2 separate regions of the Homo sapiens genome follow, and region 1 is linked to region 2. The links are contacts of gene promoters, found by promoter capture Hi-C in blood cells and fetal thymus (Javierre and others, 2016). All regions are on one chromosome and are shown on one strand. The core of a region is centred on a gene start or on the middle of the fragment in contact, and the rest is flanking DNA. Distances in the headings are between cores, read along the strand shown. Region 1 overlaps C19orf38 (chromosome 19 open reading frame 38). Region 2 holds the start of DNM2 (dynamin 2).

Evidence for each region. The method cuts DNA at HindIII sites, captures the fragments that hold promoters and counts their contacts. A CHiCAGO score of 5 or more calls a contact.
Region 1: a fragment that was not itself captured here is called in contact with the fragment with the promoter of DNM2 in region 2 in 7 of 17 cell types (neutrophils, endothelial precursors, monocytes and 4 more); the score reaches 12.8 in neutrophils.

The regions. Positions count from the first base shown.
Region 1 is chr19:10,852,325-10,856,412 of GRCh38, reverse strand. C19orf38 (chromosome 19 open reading frame 38) reads right to left here. Exons shown (of 7, transcript NM_001136482.3): 3 at 56-148. Among named protein-coding and RNA genes, the nearest start is that of C19orf38, 6.0 kb to the right of the region's middle. The HindIII fragment of the contact is 2,363 bases long and covers 1,401-3,763 here.
Region 2 is chr19:10,716,437-10,720,226 of GRCh38, reverse strand. DNM2 (dynamin 2) reads right to left here and starts at 2,148. Exons shown (of 21, transcript NM_001005361.3): 1 at 1,824-2,148. The coding sequence starts at 1,984. MIR638 (microRNA 638) reads right to left here and starts at 1,823; the gene lies at 1,724-1,823. RefSeq lists enhancers at 990-1,129, 2,570-2,689, 2,880-3,069 and a silencer at 1,620-2,289. The HindIII fragment of the contact is 21,985 bases long and covers 1-3,790 here.

The DNA of each region.
Region 1 (4,088 bases), core at 1,333-3,832, 140 kb before region 2:
ACGTTCCAGAAGTTGTCAACTGGCAACTTGTGTGCCAGGCTTTGCGTGCTGTTACCTTTTCTGACCACCAGGGCAACAGCCACCAGCCCAGCAAGGAGGAAGAGGGCACCAGCCAGGCTCAGGGAGAGCACCAAGATCCAAGTGGGCACTGGAGGAAAATCAGAAAAGAGAGTGGGCAGGTCAGTGTCGTCTCTCCAGGTTACCTTTGAGTAGCCAGCCCTTACCCCATAACCCCCAACCAAAGAACATGAATGCAGCTGGACCCAAGAGACTTAGCAAACTTTGTGTCTGGCCAATTAGCCTATCCCCCGCTCCTGGCTATTGTGATTGGTTCAGGATGAGCATGTAACCCAAGTGGAGCCAATGAGAGCTAACTCTGGGACTTTGGTGGTACCACTGGGAAAAGAGGTTTACTCCTCTGGCTAGCATTGCATAGGATAGATATCTTAGGCCAGGTGCGGTGATTCATGCCTGTAATCCCAACACTTTGGGAGGCTGAGGCAGGTGGATTACTTGAGGCCAGGGGCTCAAGACCAGCCTAGCCAACACAGGGAAATTCTGTCTATATTAAAAATATAAATAATTGGCCAGGCGCAGTGGCTCACGCCTGTAATCCCCACACTTTGGGAGGCCAAGGCAGGTGGATCACTAGGTCAGTAGATCGAGACCATCCTGGCTAACACTGTGAAACCCCGTCTCTACTAAAAATACAAAAAATTAGCCAGGCGTGCTGGCACGTGCCTGTAGTCCCACTTACTCAGGAGGCTGAGGCAGGAGAATCACTTGAACCCGGGAGGCGGAGGTTGCAGTGAGCTGAGATGGCGCCACTGAACTCCAGCCTGGGTGACAGAGCAAGACTCTGTCTCAAAAAGAAACAAACAAAACAAAAAACAACAAAACCCCACAAATAATTAGCCAGGTGTGGTGCACACCTGTAATTCCAGCTACTTCAGAGGCTGAGGCACAAGAATAGTTTGAACCCGGGAAGTGGAGGGTGCACTGAGCTGAGATCGTGCTACTGCACTCCAGCCTGGGTGACACAGAGAGACCCCATCTGAAGAAACAAACAAAAAAAGAGATGGCTGGGCACGGTGGCTCACGCCTGTAATCCCAGCCCTTTGGGAGACTGAGGTGGGTGGATCACCTGAGGTCAGGAGTTCGAGATCAACCTGGCCAACATAGTGAAACCTCGTCTCTACTAAAAATACAAAAATTAGCCAGGTGTTACGTGCCTGTAATCCCAGCTACTTGGGACGCTGAGGCAGGAGAATCGATTGAACCCAAAAGGTGGAGGTTGCAGTGAGCCGAGATTGGGCCATTGCCTTCCAGTCTGGGTGACACAGCTAGAATCTGTCTCAAAAAAAAAAAAAAAAAAAAAAAAAGAATATATATCTGAAGCTTCAGGGCACAATCTTGCCTCCATGAGGGGGAGAAACTACCTGAGAATAAGACAGAAGAGGAGCTGAGAAGGCAAATGCTTTCTGTCATTTTTCAGCACCTGGATCCAGCCATATCTGAAGTCAGCCATGTAAACTGACTTCAGCTCAGTGAACCAACAAATCCCCTCTTGCTGGTAGAGCCAGTGTGAGTCAGGTTTTTATTACTTGCAGTCTGGGTGCCAGTGGCCAGATGACATCCACCCCCAGCCCAACGGTAGACCCTGAGATCCACCCAGAAGCTAGTCACACAGGCATGGGAGTGGCAGTTCCAGAGTCACCTTCTCAGCACAAGACTTCGCTTCCCCTTCCTGGAGAAAGAGGAGATGCCCTGACCCCAAGGGAGGTGAGGAGCTAAGCCAGAAGAGGGAAGAAGACAGACGCTTGGTATTCTCACAATGTCAGCCTTGTTCATTGATTCACCTGGGGCAGAAGGGGTGTTGTCAGCTCCCTACTCCAAGGCCACAAGGCCAAGGTGAGAGAAGGGGGCCTTTGATAGAGGAGCCTGAGGCCGGGAAGGACAGAGAACTGCCCTGTCATAGCTGCATGTTGGCCTCGGCTGGCAACAAGATTATTTTTTGCAGTGAAAAAGTTCTTTTTAAAAGTTTTTTTGGGCCAGGCGCGGTGGCTCATGGCTGTAATCCCAGCACTTTGGGAGGCCGATGTGGGCGGATCACTTGAGGTCAGGAGTTGAAGACCACCCTGGCCAACATGGTGAAACCCCATCTCTACTAAAAAATACAAAAATTAGCAGGGTGTGGTGGTTGGCGCCTGTAGTCCCAGCTACTCGGGAGGCTGAGGCACGAGAATCGCTTGAGCCTGGGAGGCAAAGGTTGCAGTGAGCCGAGATTGGGCCACTGCACTTCAGCCTGGGCGACAGAGTGAGACTCTGTCTCAAAAATTAAAAAAAAAAAAAAGTTTTTACAGACAGGGTCTCCCTCTGTCACCCAGGCTGGAATGCAGTGGTGCGATCATGGCTCACTATATCCTCTACCTCCCCGGCTTAAGTGATCCACCTGCCTCAGCCTACTGACACATGCCAGCAGTCCCTCCTAATTAAAAAAAAAAAAAAAAAAACATTAGCCGGACGGGGTAGCTCACGCCTGTAATCTCAGCACTTTGGGAGGCTGAGGTGGGCGGATCACAAGATCAGGAGATTGAGATCATCCTGGCTAACACTGTGAAACCCCTTCTTACTAAAAAAAAAAATACAAAAAATTAGCTGGGCATGGTGGCACATGCCTGTAGTCCCAGCTACTCGGGAGGCTCTGAGGCAGGAGAATCGCTTGAACCCGGGAGGCAGAGGTTGCAGTGAGCCGAGATCGTGCCACTGTACTCCAGCCTGGGCGACAGACCGAGACTGTCTCAAAAAAAAAAAAAAAATTGGGGGGAGCTGGGCATGGTGGCTCACGCCTGTAATTCCAGCACTTTGTGAGGCCGAGGCAGGCAGAACACCTGAGGTCAGGAGTTTGAGAGCAGCCTGGCCAGCATTGTGAAACCCCATCTCTACTAAAACTCAAAAAGTAGCTGGGCATGGTGGTGCACGCCTGTAATCCCAGCTACTCGGGAGGCTGAGGCAGGAGAATTGCTTGAACCTCGGAGGTAGAGGTTGCAGTGAGACTCGAGAGGCTGAGGCAGGAGAATTGCTTGAACCTCGGAGGTAGAGATTGCAGTGAGCTGGGGTCACACCACTGCACTCCAGCCTGGGCGACAGAGTGAGTCCCTGTCTTTACAAAAAATAGACATATTAGCCAGGCGTGGTGGTGCACGGCTGTAGTCCCAGCTGCTAGGGAGACTGAGAAGGGAAGATTGATTGAGCCCAGGAAGTGGAGGCTGCAGTGAGCTGTGATTGCGCCACTGCACTCTAGCCTGGTCAACAAAGCAAGACCCCTATCTAAAAAAAAAATAAAATAATTTTTTTTTTTTTTTGTAGAGACAGGGTCTCACTATGTTGCCCAGGCTGATCTTGAACTCCTTGGCTCAAGGAATCGTCCTGCCTCAGCCTCCCAAAGTCCTGGGCTTATAGGCGTGGGTCATTGCACCCGGCCAGGAAAGTTCTGACTGATGGTAACACAGAAGGCCACCAAAGGCTCCTCCCTCCTGCTTCTTGACCCATAACCCATGTCCAGCCTCCTCATTCAGAGATCAGAAAAGGACATCAGCCCTGCCAGGGTTCCCTCACTCAGGTGAAAAGATCGAATCCTTGCTGTGGTCTACAAGACCCCCCACGATCCTCCTGGTGAACTCCCTGCCCCGCCTCTCCCCATTTTCCTCCTTGTTCACCATCCTTCAGCCATACTGGGCTCCTCAGACACACCAGGGAAGCTTCAGCCTCGGGGCCTTTGCACATCCTGTATCCTCTGCCTGCAACACATGCCCTGGATATCCACATGATTGGCTCCTCCTCATCATTCAGTTTTTTGCTCAAATGCCACCTCCTCAGAGAGGGCTTCCCTGATTGCCCTACTCTACTTCAGAGTCCAGAGGGCTGACCATTAGAACATGGGGCCAGTCGCCCTACTCTACTTCAAATAATGACATCCTCACCCAGGTGGATTTCATCTGGTGCCCTGCTGGCAGGTTGAATATATATTGGATTTCATGTTTATCATCTGTCCTCATCCGCCTGGAATGTCAGCCTGGAATGTCTTT
Region 2 (3,790 bases), core at 899-3,398:
AAAAAAAAAATAAATAAATAAATAAAATAAAATAAACTTGTTTAGGAGAGTCAACCAAGACTTAGAGAGGCCAAGACAACCTGTGCAAGGTCACAAGGCAAGTGAAAGAGACAGAGCTTTGCAAACACCCCCCACCCCCGTCCCAGAAGCCTGGGCAGGCAGGAAGATGGTCACTCAAAGGGGCCCACACCACAGTCCAGCCTGAGATCAGGCCAGGCCCAGCTGGCTGCAAGTCCACACCTTTCCACCACGGTAGACAGAAGGCAATGAGCTAGAGACAAGGTAGCAAAAGAGGAGATTTGTGCTGCTTGGAGCAAAGCCCCAAGGCTCTGGGATGGCAGACACAAGGCCTTACGCCAGCCTAGTGGCCTTGGGTGATCACAGTCCCTTCTGAGCCTCCCAGCTCAGCTAAGGTGGGGATGATAACACAGCCTCCACCCCACTCCTTACTTGGGATTCAAGATGTTGAATCAAGAAGGGACATTATCCCTTGACAATGATAACAACAATAACAATGACAATAATGACAGGAGGAGGATGTTATCATTTGGCAGCCACACCACCACAAATGAGTAGTTCCTGGAATGGAGAAGTGGCCGCCCATCTGGGAGACAAGAAAGGCAAGAGGGGTTGGTGGGAGGGAGAGGTGGCTGCACGGGCTGTTCTCATTCATTTGCTTCCTGAATCCTGGAAACAGCCCCAGAGAGTGGAGTTTGCCCACTGGACAGATGGGCACACCGCGGCTTCTCAAGGCTGTCCAGAGAAGGCTACATCCCAGCGCTAGCCACTGAGGCCTGATCACGCAAGAAGCCCCTTCCCAGGCTCCAAAGGAGGGCCCCCAATTTGTAGGCTGTAGCTGGGAGGCGGGCCCCTGTGTTCTAGCACTCGGAAAGGAATCCTGAAGTAAGGTACCCCCAGAGTCCTCCTTCCAGCTGAGAGGGGAAGTAGGGTCCAAACCTCCTCCTTCAGCTCTGTTCTCCCCTCTACCCTCCTACCACCCCTTTCCAGAGCCGTTGTGCCAGACACTCAGGGGTAGTCATGGGCAGACTAGGAGATGGCCAGACAGACAGAAGAATTCACACGGAAGAGAGGAGCCAGCGCTAGCCAGGAATCAAGCTGTAAGAGTCAGCCAGAGAGAATCAAACAGGGTCCCCTAGGAGTCAGCTAGCCAGTCAGACAGTAGAGGCCAGCTGGTGTCACCCAACAGAGGGACTGCTCAGTGTTAAAGTCTGTGAGGGGCACGGATGGGCGGCCAGACAGCAGAGGTCACCCTGGACAGCTAGCCAGACAGCAGGGGGCTGCCAGGTGGGACTGGACAGATGGACAACCAAATGGTGGTGGCAGGGAGGCTTGCCCAGGACAGAGAGACAGCCAACCAGACGGCGGGGGCAGCTCCAGATACAAGAACAAGCCAGCCAGACCGCAGCGGTCGCCCCAATAGATATCTAGATGGCCGGTTTCACCTCTGATGGACAGCCCGAAAGAGCAGAAGAGGGATCTACCCCAGACCCACGGCCAACCAGATGGCAGACTTCACCCACGAAAGCTGGGACCAGATGGACCGCAGGGTTCCAGCGCACCTCCTGTCCTACGGCGCCCTGGCCCGTGACACCGCCCCTGGGGCCCGGGCCTGCTCCGGAGCCCCTGCAGGGAGTCCTCTGCCCAGGGCGTCCCACAGGGCCCGCCTCCCCGACCCCGTCCGGTTCCCCGCCGCGGGCACGCAAGCGCCGCAGTTACGCCGGCGGCGCACGGCGCGCCATTCCCGGTCCGCCCTCCGCGCCCTAGGCCGCCACCCGCCCGCGATCCCTGCCGCGCCCGCTCACCGGCCCACGAAGTTCTCCAGCACCGAGCTCTTGCCGGCGCTCTGGCCGCCCACTACAGCGATCTGCGGCAGGTCCAGGTGGCAGCTCTGGCCGATGGAGCTGAAGGCGTCCTGCAGTTTGTTGACCAGCGGGATCAGCTCTTCCATCCCGCGGTTGCCCATGGCGCCGGCGGCCCCCGGCCCGAGCGCCCTGCGCTCCTCGCCCGCCGCCGACCCTCAACGACCTGGCCCCGCGGCGTCTGTAGCCGTTGCTCCCCGCCCGCCCGGGCCTCGGCAAGACGCCCGCTCCCGGCTCGGCCTCACGGTCGCCGCCTCATCCGGTTCTCAGGCGACACCCGACCCGAGCGACCTCCCGCCCCGGCCCCGGGGGCTGCGCCCAAAGCACTCGCGCCGCACGCGACTGGCCTGCTGCACCGCCACTCGGATACACTAGCCAATAAAAACTAGGCACGGGCCTATGGTTGAGTAAACCTTCCCCCTGGGGACCGTCTTGCTGACTTATTGGACAAAAGAACCGTCACTGTTGTGCAACAGCCAATAGCGGCAGAAAGCAAGTTGTCAAGAGAGGAAGGGGGTGTTTCCGAAAAAGGCACGTTGGCTCTGCCCATTGGCGAAGTTCCACCATCTTATTGGCAGGCAGACGTGCCAGTAGACAATGTGGACCAATGGTGTTGGGGATTGAGCTACTACCTCGTTCCCTAAGAATTTCCCATTGGTTCATATAAATATCACTTCGTTGCTCCAGCCAACCAGGCAAAAGAGGGCGGGCTTTAACATCCGAATCTTGACTATCATTGAGAACCATATCTGTCAATCAGAAAAACTCCCGTTCTTCCTTGTGATTGTTGGATGTCTGCAACAGCCTTCTGAAGTATAGGATAGATCCCACCGTACTCGCTCAAGGGCGACACCTCGTGGTGGGATCCGATGTCTCGATTTTTGAGTTTCCTGGCACTGGGGAAAACTACAAGTCCCAGAGCGCATCTCAGTTCCCAGACTGCAAACCAGCTCTGGGAGCAGGGTCCCAATGCGCTCTGCAAATGGTAGAGGCCAAGTCATTGCTTCCTAGGGATAGAACGCAATAAAATCACTCCTCCACGCCTTTGCAAATGCTGTGCCCTTTCTGCTCACGCCCGATCTTGACGCCGCTAACACTCCAATGTTTTCCCCCACTTCTTCAACTTTAGCAGATCATGAATCTTTTTTCTTTTCTTTTTTTTGAGGCGGGGTACTCACTCTGTCACCCAGGCTGGAGTGCAGTAGCGCGATCTTGGCTCACTGCAACCTCCGCCTCCCCGGTTCAACCAATTCTCCTGCCTCAGCCTCCCGAATAGCTGGGATTACAAGTGTGAGCCACCACGCCCAGCTAATTTTGTATTTTTAGTAGACGGGGTTTCACCATATTGGCCAGGCTGGTCTCGAACGCCTGGCCTCAAGTGATCCGCCCGTCTTGGCCTCCCAAAGTGTTGGAATTACAGGTGTGAGCCACCGCGTCTAGCTAATGAATCTTCTTTTCTTAGAAACTGGGTCCTTACTCTGTTGCCCAGGCTGGGGTGCAGTAGTGCACTCATAGCTCAATTCAACAAGCACCTGGGCTCAAACGATCCTCCCGCCTCAGCGTCCCGAGTAGCTGGAACCACAGACGTGCGCAACTATGCCCAGCTAATTATTTTTATTTTATTTTTTATAGAGACAGGGTCTTGCTGTGTTGTCCAGGCTGGTCTCAAACTCCTGCGCCCAAACGACCCTCACAGGCCGGCCTCCCAAAAGTGCTGGGATTACATGTGTGAACCCCCCCAACTGGCTTTAGATCTTTTTGAGTACCCACTAAAACTCAACAAATCCTCTCCCCGTGAAAAGACACGCTATTTTGTAGGCAAAATTGGGGTTCTGGGAACTGGAACTCCTGACAGTGGACAGAGACAAATAGGAGGATTTGAAGTGTTTTGACCCCTCTGGAGACAAATA